Regions from separate parts of the Homo sapiens genome. Here region 2 is linked to region 1. Evidence: promoter capture Hi-C in 16 types of primary human blood cells and fetal thymus (Javierre and others, 2016). All regions are on one chromosome and are shown on one strand. Each heading gives the region's core, a stretch centred on a gene start or on the middle of the fragment in contact. The rest is flanking DNA. Distances are from core to core; before and after follow the strand shown.

What was found. Contacts are between HindIII fragments. The CHiCAGO score rates a contact against its expected background, and 5 or more counts as called.
Region 2: a contact is called between a fragment that was not itself captured here and the fragment with the promoter of RPL22 in region 1, in 4 of 17 cell types (naive B cells, total B cells, naive CD8 T cells and 1 more). The highest score is 11.9, in naive B cells.

What each region holds. Positions count from the first base shown.
Region 1 is chr1:6,197,125-6,202,927 of GRCh38, forward strand. RPL22 (ribosomal protein L22) reads right to left here and starts at 2,471. Exons shown (of 4, transcript NM_000983.4): 1 at 2,438-2,471; 2 at 528-632. The coding sequence starts at 2,449. RefSeq lists a silencer at 2,223-2,362. The HindIII fragment of the contact is 15,793 bases long and covers 1,351-5,803 here.
Region 2 is chr1:5,507,017-5,512,819 of GRCh38, forward strand. No RefSeq gene overlaps it. Among named protein-coding and RNA genes, the nearest start is that of MIR4689, 350 kb to the right of the region's middle. The HindIII fragment of the contact is 949 bases long and covers 2,348-3,296 here.

The DNA.
Region 1 (5,803 bases), core at 1,221-3,720:
GTTCACGCGATTCTTCTACTGCAGCCTCCCGAGTAGCTGGGATTACAGGTGCACACCACCACACCCAGCTAATTTTTTTGTATTTTTAGTGGAGACGGGGTTTCACTATGTTGGCCAGACTGGTCTCGAACTCCTGACCTCATGATCTGCCCGCCTCAGCCTCCTAAAGTGTTGGGATTACGGGCGTGAGCCACCGTGCCTGGCTTGTTTCTGGGTAACTTTTAAGTAAAATCATTTGTGGAAACTAAAGGAGAAAAACAAGATAGTCCTCTAACACCTCTGTGCTAGAGCCCTTCTTGCTTATTCTAAGCCCATCTCCTTTTACTCCTCACAACTGTTGCACACACAAGAAGAAACAAGACTTGGAAACAAACAAGTAATCTGCCCACATTCCCAGGGTGAGATGATACAGCCAGACCTGTGAAGCTGCCTATAAGCCTGAAAACAGAAATGTACCCCAGTAGGTTTTCTCAACAGTATCTCAAAATGTTCGTGACCACCCGAGTGGCAATAAGGATGTAACTTACAAAATTGGCAGCATCCATGATTCCATCTTCTACAGGGTGGGTGCAATCAAGAGTGAACTTCAGAACTTGCTTCTTTTTTTTGCCCCCCTTCACCACAAGCTTTTTCTAAGAAAATACACAAATGATAACAGAGATGAAGTTTCAGTCAGTCGGAAAAACAAGATTAACAGAACCAGAAACGTCATAGGTATAAAAGTCCATACAAATACAAAACTAACGGAAGTGTGCTCCCTTTGCCAGAGGGCCAAGAGGCATCACTGCCTGAGTGCCAGAGGTATAATGGGGCAGATGCTGCTGTACAAGCTTGGGGCCTGGGGTCATGCCCTTTTGATGGGGAAATCATTCTAGCACTCTTGACTCACTCAAACTTTCCAGTCTCCCCAATCTCTACAGGCATGAAGGTCTCTTAGTTTATGAACCACAATAAAATGAACACTTCCTTTTGTTTGCCCTAACATTCCCAATTTCAAAAAAATACTATTTTTCCAAAATTAGAGTGCAGGCATACAAAATGCCTTGCATACCCACAATTTTCATATGAAATCAATCCTTGTCCTACATGTTCAGAGTAGGGTCCTGATCCGTCTTAGCTCATCTCCCTTAATCCTGTCTCATCCACCTTCTCATGAAGGGAGTTGCAAAGTATTCTAGGTGCCTGTCCACTCCAGCTTGGACAAGGTTAAGGCTAAAACCTAGAATCTTATTACAACACTACCGTCAAGAACTTCTGACATTTTGATTCGCTTCATCTATGCATTAGTACTTCCAAACCACCCGGCAAAGCACATCCTACAAGGTTCCAGTTTCTTCACTCTTACGAAGAAGCTTGTGTTAATCTTATCTCTCTACAAACTTGACACCATTAATGCACTTGTGCATCGTACCAACCTGTACTTTCACGTTTAAAAGCTCTGCAGAACTAAATAGACTTTTCCAAAAACACATCTTACCTCCCTTCATGTTTAAAAGAACTTCATCTAAAACTTGTGTTAACTGGATCAACTTTTCAAACATTTGGCCACTACAAAAATCACTGATTTATTTTTTACAACGTCTCTTCGCAGTAATAATCTAAGAGGGGTACTTTAAGATCTATTCCGAACACACACAATCAATCAAGAGACCTACCCACAACGGGCTTGATACTTCTCCATCAAGGTTTTAAACCAAAAGGCATTCAAAAGCCCAACCAGACAGAAAGAGCAGAAGAACCGGAAATGTTAACCAGGGAGTCCCAACAAAAGAGGAAAAGTAGGATCTTGGGACGAAGAACACGGAAAAACAACTTTCTCAAATAACCTAGGAGGAGGGCGCCGCACAGCCCAGTCCCAGCATAGCTAAAGGAGAATGCAATGAGAGCCTTCTCCCTACACCACTGCAACACCCGTTTGGGTCTGTACAGTGCGCCCTGATAAACTAATTTCCTCTGGGGACGCTAAAAAGCTCCTCAAACCCAGGCCTCCTCTCCGAAAGCACGCCGACCAAGCCGCCCTTCCGCGGATTCGTCCCCGAGTCTTGGCCGTGGACTTCCGAATGCGCGGCTCCCCAGGGTAGCAGGTCCCGTTCTTCTTCCCCGCCCTCCACCCAGGTAATCAGGCCCCCGGCCGGGGTCCGAGGACCAGTGGCCGGCCCAGACCGCAGTCTCCAGGCTCCAGCTCCCCGCTAGCCCCTAGCTGGGGCCCCGGGCCTCCGAGACCTCCCGGATCTCCCTCACGAGCCTCGGGCCGCGGCCTCCTCCGCCTACAACGTGCTGGGATCGGCAGGGGCTCTGGCCCGCTCCGGCCGACCTGCCAGCCCACCCCAGCAGGACGCTGCAGGGCGCCGTCCCCAGCGAGCCTGGGTAGATGCCGGGCTCGGCGAGGCCCACGTGCCTCCCCTGGAGCCGAGGCCTCACGCGGAGCCATACTAACCACAGGAGCCATGGCGGCAGCGGAGTTAGAAAGGGAGGTGAGCGAACTACGCAGACGCAAAGAGCCCGCAGCGCGCAAGGCACGCAGGGTCCAGGCCGCACTAATCACTTTGCCACGCCCCTCGTCCGCCACCTTTTCTCTTGGTTATGTACGATAGGGGAGCGATTGGTTTTTCCTGAATGCAAAACGCGTCCTCTCCCAGGCCTGGAGGGTTTCTGGGGAAGGAAGGAGGCCCGGCGGGCTGTCCCACTGCGAACGATCGGAGGGGGGAAGCCAGACTGGACGAGCCCAAAGATAAATAAAGGGGTTGGCTTTACTTTTTGAAAGTCTTGGGAAGAAAAAAGAAATAAGGAAATTCACTATACTGTAAATTACCAGCTAGTGGGATGGAAATCGAATCTACTAATTTGGGGAAGTGGGAAAATTCCTTGTAGCCACCGGGAAATTTCGTTCAGAGGTCCCAATGCCAGACCACTATGGCTTCCTCAAAAAGCCCCAGCTTGGAAGCTCATGCCCAGGGGCTGTCTCCCAGTGCCTGTCCTTTTTGCTGTAGCCAGGCCGCCCCCTCGCTGATCACCACTCCCTAGTTTCCCAGCCCAAGCCTTCTAGTTTCCCATCCCAAACCAGTAAGTAGTTGAGGACCACCAGGAGATCTGGAAAATGCAGATTCCAATTCCAGCGGTCTCAGTGGCCTGAAATTCTGCATTTCTCACAAGCTCTCAGACGATGCTGATGCTGCGAGTCCATGGACCGCATGTGGAGAAGCAAAGGTCCTCATCCCCAGGCCCACAGGTCCCTTGAACTGGGCTACTTTGCACCCAGTCACCCGCTGCGTCCTCACGGAATTATATTCCAGGATCCTGAATTGTAAATCACTCAGTGGCACACACACTCTCCACTCCCTTTACCTGGCTTCAGTGTACTCACCTAGCAAAAGTCCAATCACCAGAAGAGACTGTGCTGATGGGTCTAGCTTTCAACTCAGGCCTCAAGCCGGTTGACCAAGCTCCAAAGCCAGCTGCTGTTCTTGGCTCTATAATGATCAGGCTGGGCCTCTGCAAACACTTCTGCTTTCCAGCTGATCCCGGTTTGGCTCTATCAATAGGGGGCTTTGCTTCCTGCTTGCTCCTGTCCTGTCTGGTGTCATCCACTCTTGCTTCTTTATCCTGGAGGTGGCAGTTGGAACATTCTGGAAGCAGCAGTGGAATCCAGTCTGCACTTATTCCAACATTTGCAGAACCAGCCTCGTTTTCTCCTCAGAGACACCAGCCCTAGCAGAGCAGCACCCTCTCCTCAGATGTCTGAGTTTCACCTCCCTGTGCCCCTCCTCAAGCATCTACATTTTAATAATACCACCTACCAGTGGTAGCTACTTCCTGCAGTTGCTACTGTTAGTATTATACCCCGACAGTTACCTAAACACATCTTTATACCTAGTTAACAATCCTTTATATTAAATTCTCTCAGTTAAAAACTATAATGTGTTGTCTTTTGACTGGACCCTGGCTGATAACGGACCCTAAGCGAGCCCTCAGGGCTACTGACAATCCTAAATCTCTCCCCCAAGGGACTATTTCCCTTTCTTGTTGTTTTTAATAGAGACAGGGTCTTGCTCTGTCACCAAGGCTGGAGTGCAGTGGTGTGATCATAGCTTACTGCAGCCTCAAACTCCTGGGCTCAAGTGATCCTCCCACCTTGGCCTCCCAAATTGCTGGGATTACAGGCATAAGGCACTGCACCTGGCCCAAAAGACTATTTCACACCTCAGTCATAATGCCAGCCCCTTCTTCCTAAACCTCCCTCTCAGCAGTTGACTTTTATTGTTCTTTCCTTTTTCTTTCTTTTTTTTTTTTTTTTTTCTGAGACAGGCTCTCGCTCTGTTGCCCAGGCTGGAGTGCAGTGGTGCGAATACGGCTCACTGAAGCCTTGACATCCTAGGCTCCAGCAATCCTCCCACCTCAGCCTCCTGAGTAGCTAGGACCACAGGTGTGCACCACCATGCCCAGCTGCATGTTTTTTTGTTTTGTTTTGTTTTGCTGTTGTAGAGAGTTGGTGTCTCACTATGGCTATGTTGCCCAGGCTGATCTAGAACTCCTGGGCTAAAGCAATCTTCCTGCCTCAGCCTCCCAAAGTGCTAGGATTACAGGCGGGAGCCATCACACCCAGCCTCCTCCCGTCCTTATCTACACTTGATCTTTAGACAAGACCCACATGCTCTTCCCTTTAAATATGACTCCCCAGGCCAATGTGTGCAGCCTCTACCCCTCCCTGGACTCCCCACAGGTACAGCCAGTGGCATCCTTGGCATCTCTAGACTAGTGTCCCGTAGATCACCCTGACCCTCATGAGCCCATTCTCACCTCTTCACCCTCACCCCCACCTCCCCACACTCAAACCCTCATCCCTCACCCCACACCCCCTGCCCCGCCCCCACCTCTCCAGCCTCACCCCCATCCTCCATCCTCACTCCCATGCCATGTTCAGCCCTACTCCCCACCCTGAGCTCCTTCATCTCCAGCCACATTGATCTGCTAGTCTCTAAATGTCTTCCCATTTCTGGGGCTTTGCACTTGCTCTTGCCTCTGCTTGGAACTTTTCCCAGCTTTTCTATTTTTGTTTTTCTTTCGAGACAGGGTCTTACTCTATCACCCAGGTGGGACTGCAGAGGTGCAGTCACAGCTCACTGCAGCCTCAACCTCCTGGCTCAAGCAATCCTTCCACCTCAGCCTCTCAAGTAGCTGGGACTACAAGCACGAGCCACCATGCCCAGCTAAGTTTTAGTATTTTTTATAGAGGGGGGAGTCTTGCTATGTTGCCCAAGCTGGTCTTGAACTCCTGGGCTCAAGAGATTCACCCACGCTGGCCTCCCAAAGTGCTGGGATTACGGGTGTGGGCCACTGCGCCCAGCCTTCCTGGCTTTTCTTAATTTCTTATCCTCTGGGGGTCTCAAGCTCAGTTCCCCCTCTCTGCTCATGGTTACCTAGTGTGGTCCTCAGCTCGAGCCCCTCCCAACTGCCCTCCATCTCATCATCCTTATTTATTTATTTAATTTTTTAGGCGGAATCTCACTCTGTCACCCAAGCCGGAGTGCAGTGGCGCCATCTCGATTCTCCTGCCTCAGCCTCGCAAGAGTAGCTGGGATTACAGGCATGCACCACTACACCCAGCTAATTTTTCCTTTTTTTCCTTTTTTTTTTTTTTTTTTTTTTTTTTTGAGACAGAGGTCTCACTCTGTCACTCAGGCTGGAGTGCAATGGCGCAATCTCGGCTCACTGCAACCTCCACCTGCCAGGTTCAAGCAATTTTCCTGCCTCAGCCTCCGAAGTAGCTGGGACTCCAGGTGCGTGCCACCATGCCTGGCTAATT
Region 2 (5,803 bases), core at 1,572-4,071, 690 kb before region 1:
GAATCTGCTCATCATTCACTCTCCCCCCCTCCCCTGGAAAGAAAGAATCGCACTTTTCTCCTGACAAGCCAGGAACTGTGCCACCTAATTTAAGGGGCAGGAAGAACCACGATAGCACTCAGCACTCGGTGCTCGTCACCAGAGATGTATTGTAGCTGGGAGCATAAAAAACACCTCATTAAATCATCTCTTTCCCTTCATTAGGATAACATCACTTAAACCTGCCGTCTCCAACCTCAGCAAAAGCTGCCCCCTCCTTCTGAAAGCTCAGAGCTGGGGTGGGACGTATGCCAGGCCGAGAGGGTCTGCACACCCGCCCCCAGGAGTGTGCATCTCTCGGTGGCTAATTCACTCGCATTGATGGATGGATTGCACGGTGTGCTTATTTACAATATTTACACTTAGGGTGAGAGGAACGTTCTGGCATGGAGCCATTTATCTCATTCTTTTTGGAAGCTCTTCCTCTTTTTCGCTAATGGGAGTATCACTCACTAGATAATACCCAGCCTCGCTTGGCCAGCTCAGCAACTTTCCACGAAGAAGGCTCACGCGCTCCACCTAAGCCCGTGCCGCACCAGCCCAGAGTGCGGGGCAGGCATGGCGTCTGTCAGGCAGAACTTGCTGCCCACACCCCACTGCAGGCTCCATGTGGGGTCTGGGTGGCCCCGGTCTCTCACCAGCTCTGGTGGGAGAGTGTTCCGAGCCTGACATTGGGCAGCCCATCCACTCTCTCCACCGTGGGCTTCCCGGGGTTCCATGCCATCATGGTAACTGGTGTTGTCAAGTATCTGTCCCTGCCAGAATCCATGTTAAAATGTAATCCCCAATGTTGGAGGTGGGGCCTGGTGGGAGGTGTTTGGTCATGGAGGTGGATCCCTCCTGAATGGTTTGGTGCCGTCCTCATGGTAGTGAGATCTCCCGAGATCTGGTTGTTTGTCAGTGTGCGGTAGCCAGGTGCGGTGGCTCACTCCTGTAATCCCAGCACTTGGGAGGCCAAGACAGGTGGATTACTTGAGCGCAGGAATTTGAGAACAGCCTGGGCAACATGGCAAAACCCTGTCTCCACCAAAAAAAAATACAAAAATACAAAAATTAGCCAAGCATGGTGGTGCATGCCTGTAGTCCCAGCTACTGGGGAGGCTGAGGTGGAAGGATCACTCACTTGAGCCCAGGAGGTGGAGGCTGCAGTGAGCCACGGTCATGCCACTACACTCCAGCCCAGGTGACAGAGCAGCACTCTGTATCAAAAAAAAATAAGTGTCTGGCACCTCCTCAACTGGCTCTTGTTCTCACTATGTGAGACTCCTGCTCCCCCTTCACCTTCTGCCATGAGTAAAAGCTTCCCAATGCCTCCCCAGAAGCCAAACGGATGCCGGCATCATGCTTCCTGTGAAGCCTGCAGAACTGCGAGCCAATTTAAACTTCCCTTCTTGGTAAATTCCCCAGCCCCAGGCATTTCTTTATAACAATGCAAGAATGGCCTAACCCAGGAACAAAGGGGACCCTGAGGCCGCTGGACAGAACCTGGCCAAGGTGGTGGACAAAGTCAGGGTCAACCTGGGACCACACAGTGGATCTTAGGCTCACTTGCCTCAGGCTTTGATGTCCTGCCTGAATCCTACCTGGGGAACGTGGCCTTGACCTTTGCCTTTTGTGTATTCTGAGACGGGGGCTGGGCAAGGTGCAGTTGGAGGACACAGCAGGACACTCCTTGGATGCCCCCACCTCCCCACCCCTGAGCCCTGCTCTCTGTCCGTTTAGGGTCCTGGCATGGCCATGCACACAGGTGCACCCCTGCCCAAACCACGCCCAAGGTGCCTCAGCACCAACCCAAGACCCTGCCCCAAGAGGGCTGACTCTGCCTGTGACCCAAGGGTATCTGTTTCTCTCCTGGGGCTTCAGTTTCCCCCAGATGAAAGGGGTGAGCTACTTAGTGATTCCCAACCTTGGCTGCACATTGGAATTTCCTGACAAGCTTTTAAAATTCCTGGTGCCTGACCACGCCACTGACGGCGGCATTGCCTCCCCAGGTGGGGACCCAGACCTCTGCATGTTCATGTCTCCCCAGGTGACTCCAACCCCAGCCAGAGGTGAGATCCAGCAACCTGTATCAGCGGTTCTCAGCGTGGGATCCTGGGACAGCAACAGCAGCCAGGTTGACAGGCCAACTCTGCAGCCTCCGCCCCACACCTGCTGAGTCAGAAACTCTGGCTGTGGGTGCAGCAGTCTGGGATTTTACCGGCCCTGCGAGGGATTCAGCCTCCAGCATCCCGGTGCGCTTTCAGCTGTGACCCACCTGAGTGCCGTGCAGACAGTGCTGGGAAGATCCTGGCTCCAGGGCCCACTAAGCTTCACTTGACCCTTAGAGGCCCTGCTCTTCATCTGTGAAGCCCCTAAAGATGCTCTTTCCCAGGCACCTTGTAAGGAAATAAACAAGGTCAAGTCCACCAAGTGCTAAGCATCCCAGGCCTTAGCAGAATCTTTCTCCATGGGTTGACCTCGGTGTTGACAATGTCATCAGGCACCGAACAGGCAGTCACAATTCAGAACCCTGCCCTCTTTTGCTTCTGGAGAAAGATGGAAGGAAAGGAAAGGGTTTTATCAAAGGGAAACAGAGACCAAGGATGAGTGTGTGGTGTCCGACAGGCAGGAGGATGAGGCCAGGAGGGGTGTCTTGGAGACTCCAGCGCATCTGGGCTGCCCCGAAGAGGGTACCTGGAGCGGAGCGACCAGGGGGATTGAGGACAGGGAGAGACAACTTGGGGACGGCAGAAGCTCCTGGAGGTGGGCACCCTGGATGGAGGAGGGAGGAGGGAGGAGGGAGGAGGGTCCACCTGCCTGCCGGCCTGGGGCTCCCTGGGCACGGGACTCTCCTGCACCAGCTCACTGGTAGCACAGACACGCATGGGAAGGGACCCATCCCCAATTCACTGTGATGAGTGCCCCTAAAACGACCCAGCCCGTGCGGTTCTGCGGGGTCACAGGTACAGCCTCCTGGGGTCCCCGAGGACAGGGGAGCCTGCAGTGTGCAGAACTGGCCACCAGGTGGCAGCAACACCGTCTCCCCAGGGGTTACTTTGTTACAACTTCGGGAGGATGGAAGGGAGCAGGTGGTTGCAAGGAAGCAGCCCCAGAGAGCTGGAAGGAGGGTACTCTGCCCTGTGAACCACATCAGGGGACGTCCAGTGAATCCCAGCAGACCCAGAAGCCAGACCCCCAAGTATGCCTGTCCAATCTCTGCCCTACAGCCCAGCATTTTCCCCCAACCCGTTTCTCTCCCCAACCAGGTTTAAGGAAGCTTTGCAAATTCCTCAGGACCTGCAAGTTTCTGAGAACGAAATTTTGTGTTTTTATTCAACGAGTCTAAAATACATCCTGCCAGCTCTAGAGGCAAAAACTTTCGCAGAGGTCATTTACCAGGGAAAACGATCTTCCTCAATAAAGGCCTTTGCTTAATCATTACTCCATAAACTGAACTCTGAGGGCTTCAGAGATATTCTCTAGGGTTCAAGAGGAATGGTTTCCTCCAGAGAGATCCATGCATGTACCCAGGTTTGATAAACATCGGGAAAAAGGCAATCGTCATCATAGCTACCTTTTACTCAGTGCTCACCACGTGGCAGGCTCTCTTCTCCATGGAACCCTCAGAAAGAGCCCGGGAGGTGGGTGCCGGTATCACCTCCACTCTGCAGATGAGCAGACTGAGGAAGGAGAAGCCAGCAATGGCAGGGTGGGGATTTGGGCAGGGCGGCCTGACCCATAGCTCCTTCTTAACCTTGGGACCATACTTCTTCCCTCTGGCATCCTGGGACTCCTGTTCTCACCTTTCTCATCCCCTCCTTCCTCCTCACAAGTGGAACTGGGGTGAGGAGCTCCCTCACTGCACAGATTTCCTTATGGAGAGGCAAGACCTGACTCCAGCCTTGTGCTTACGACTGACCATGGCTTAAAGGGCTCTCCCTGCTGGGGACGCATTTCCTTTCCCTGCTTGGCAGTAGCCATGCAGGGCTGATTAGAGCCTCTGCCAAGGGACCACAGCTAACATGGACATTTGATCTCGCTTCCTCCGGAACATAGAGCAAGCCCACAGCAAGGGTCAGTCATCCTGGCTCCCGAGGAAATGTGCACAGAACAGCTCCTTGGCCAGTGTGCTGCCCAGGACTCCAGAGCACCTGGGAGGTGTCCCCGGCCCAGAGGGGATGGGAAAAGGTGGAGAGAGTGGTGGGACGGAGGGGTCCAGGAGCCTGCAAGCTGAGCACCCTAAAGCCTGGCATATCTGCCCGATGTCGAGGGCCCTGATTTTCATACGGGACTGGCTCCTCCGTGACTCAGGCAGCCTATGAGTCCCCATAAATGTGCCCTGTGTGGAATCCAGGACATAATTGTGCGTCTTAGGCAAACAGGGAGAGCTGAGAGACAGGAAACACGGAGCTGATGGGCCACAGAAGGGAAATGAACAGAGAGAATCAACCCAGCTTGAAACAAAAACACATTCCCAAGAGTGGATCTGCAGACTGGTGTCGCAGTGCAAGGCTGGGTGTTGCCCTTGTGTGCCCACACATCACCCTCCTTCAGGAGTGGCAAAAGCACATGAGGCAGAGGCTGTGTGTGTGCGCATGTGTGTGTGAGAGAGAGAGAGAGGGAAAGAGAGAAATGGAGGGAGGGAGAGAGAGAAAGGAAGATCATCTCTTCAAGCCAGGCTCTTAGAAAAAGAGCATCAAAAATATTTTGTGAGGAATTTCCTGAGTTCCACATCTTTAACTCTTGGAATAGAGGCAGAAGGAGATTGTAATTAAAATTGGTAGTGGGGCGGGGGAAGCATCATTATATACAGAATTTCTAAATGCCTGGAAGTGATCTTACGAAGACAAATTGGTTTTCCAACCCCACCCCAGCTATAAAAAGTTATAATTGAGTCATCAGCACCCTGCTGAACTAGGAGTCTGGATTGTTTTTAGGTAGATGAATGAACTTGAGAAAATTCTTCTCTCCAGGCCGCGATTTCCCTTAGTTTTCAAACTGCATCCTAAAGAGTGCGGGGCTTCAGCTGAGAAGCCTCATGGATGGTGGTCTGTCCCCACTCCCCCACTCCTGCCATTCAGGCAGGAGGCTCCCCACACCTTCTCTGTAACCCCCAGCTTCAAGCCAAGCTGCTCTTCTTAAAAAAAAATGTCGTATATCTCCTGAAGGAGGTTTCTTTTGAAAACACTGGAACTTAATAACTTCTGAAGTCCCTTCCAGTTCTGATGCCAGGCAGAACTGTCTGAAATCAGGTGGGGGCCATGAAAACTGCCCTGCACAGCAAAGCAGGCCCAGAAGCTTCCACCATTCAGCTGAGCCCCATAGTGAGTCCATCCTCCTGTGGTCACTCATCCTGCCTCCTCTCTGCAGGTGCCAGCTGGGCCACATGCTGGACTCAAGACTTCTGCCTTTGTTCAGAGCACTTGTCATCTCCAGAGGGCCCTCCATTCTCTCTTCCACCATCCTAGTGCCCAACTATGCACCCTATAAAGACAGGACTATGCTTTTCAGCATGGCATGAACTTGGCATGCAGTAGATGCTCAATAAATATTTGCACAATAAATAAGCAAATGCTGCCTCCAGGGTCATGCTCTACATTTGTGGTAGACAGAATTCTGTCCCCCTAAGGATGTCCCCACCTTCTGAACCTGTGAATATGGTACAGCACATGGCAAAAGGGACTTGGCAGGTATAATTAAGGATACGGGCTTTAAAACAGATTATCCCGGATGAGCTGGGTGGGCTCAAGTTCATCTCACAGGACCTTAAAAGCAGAGAACT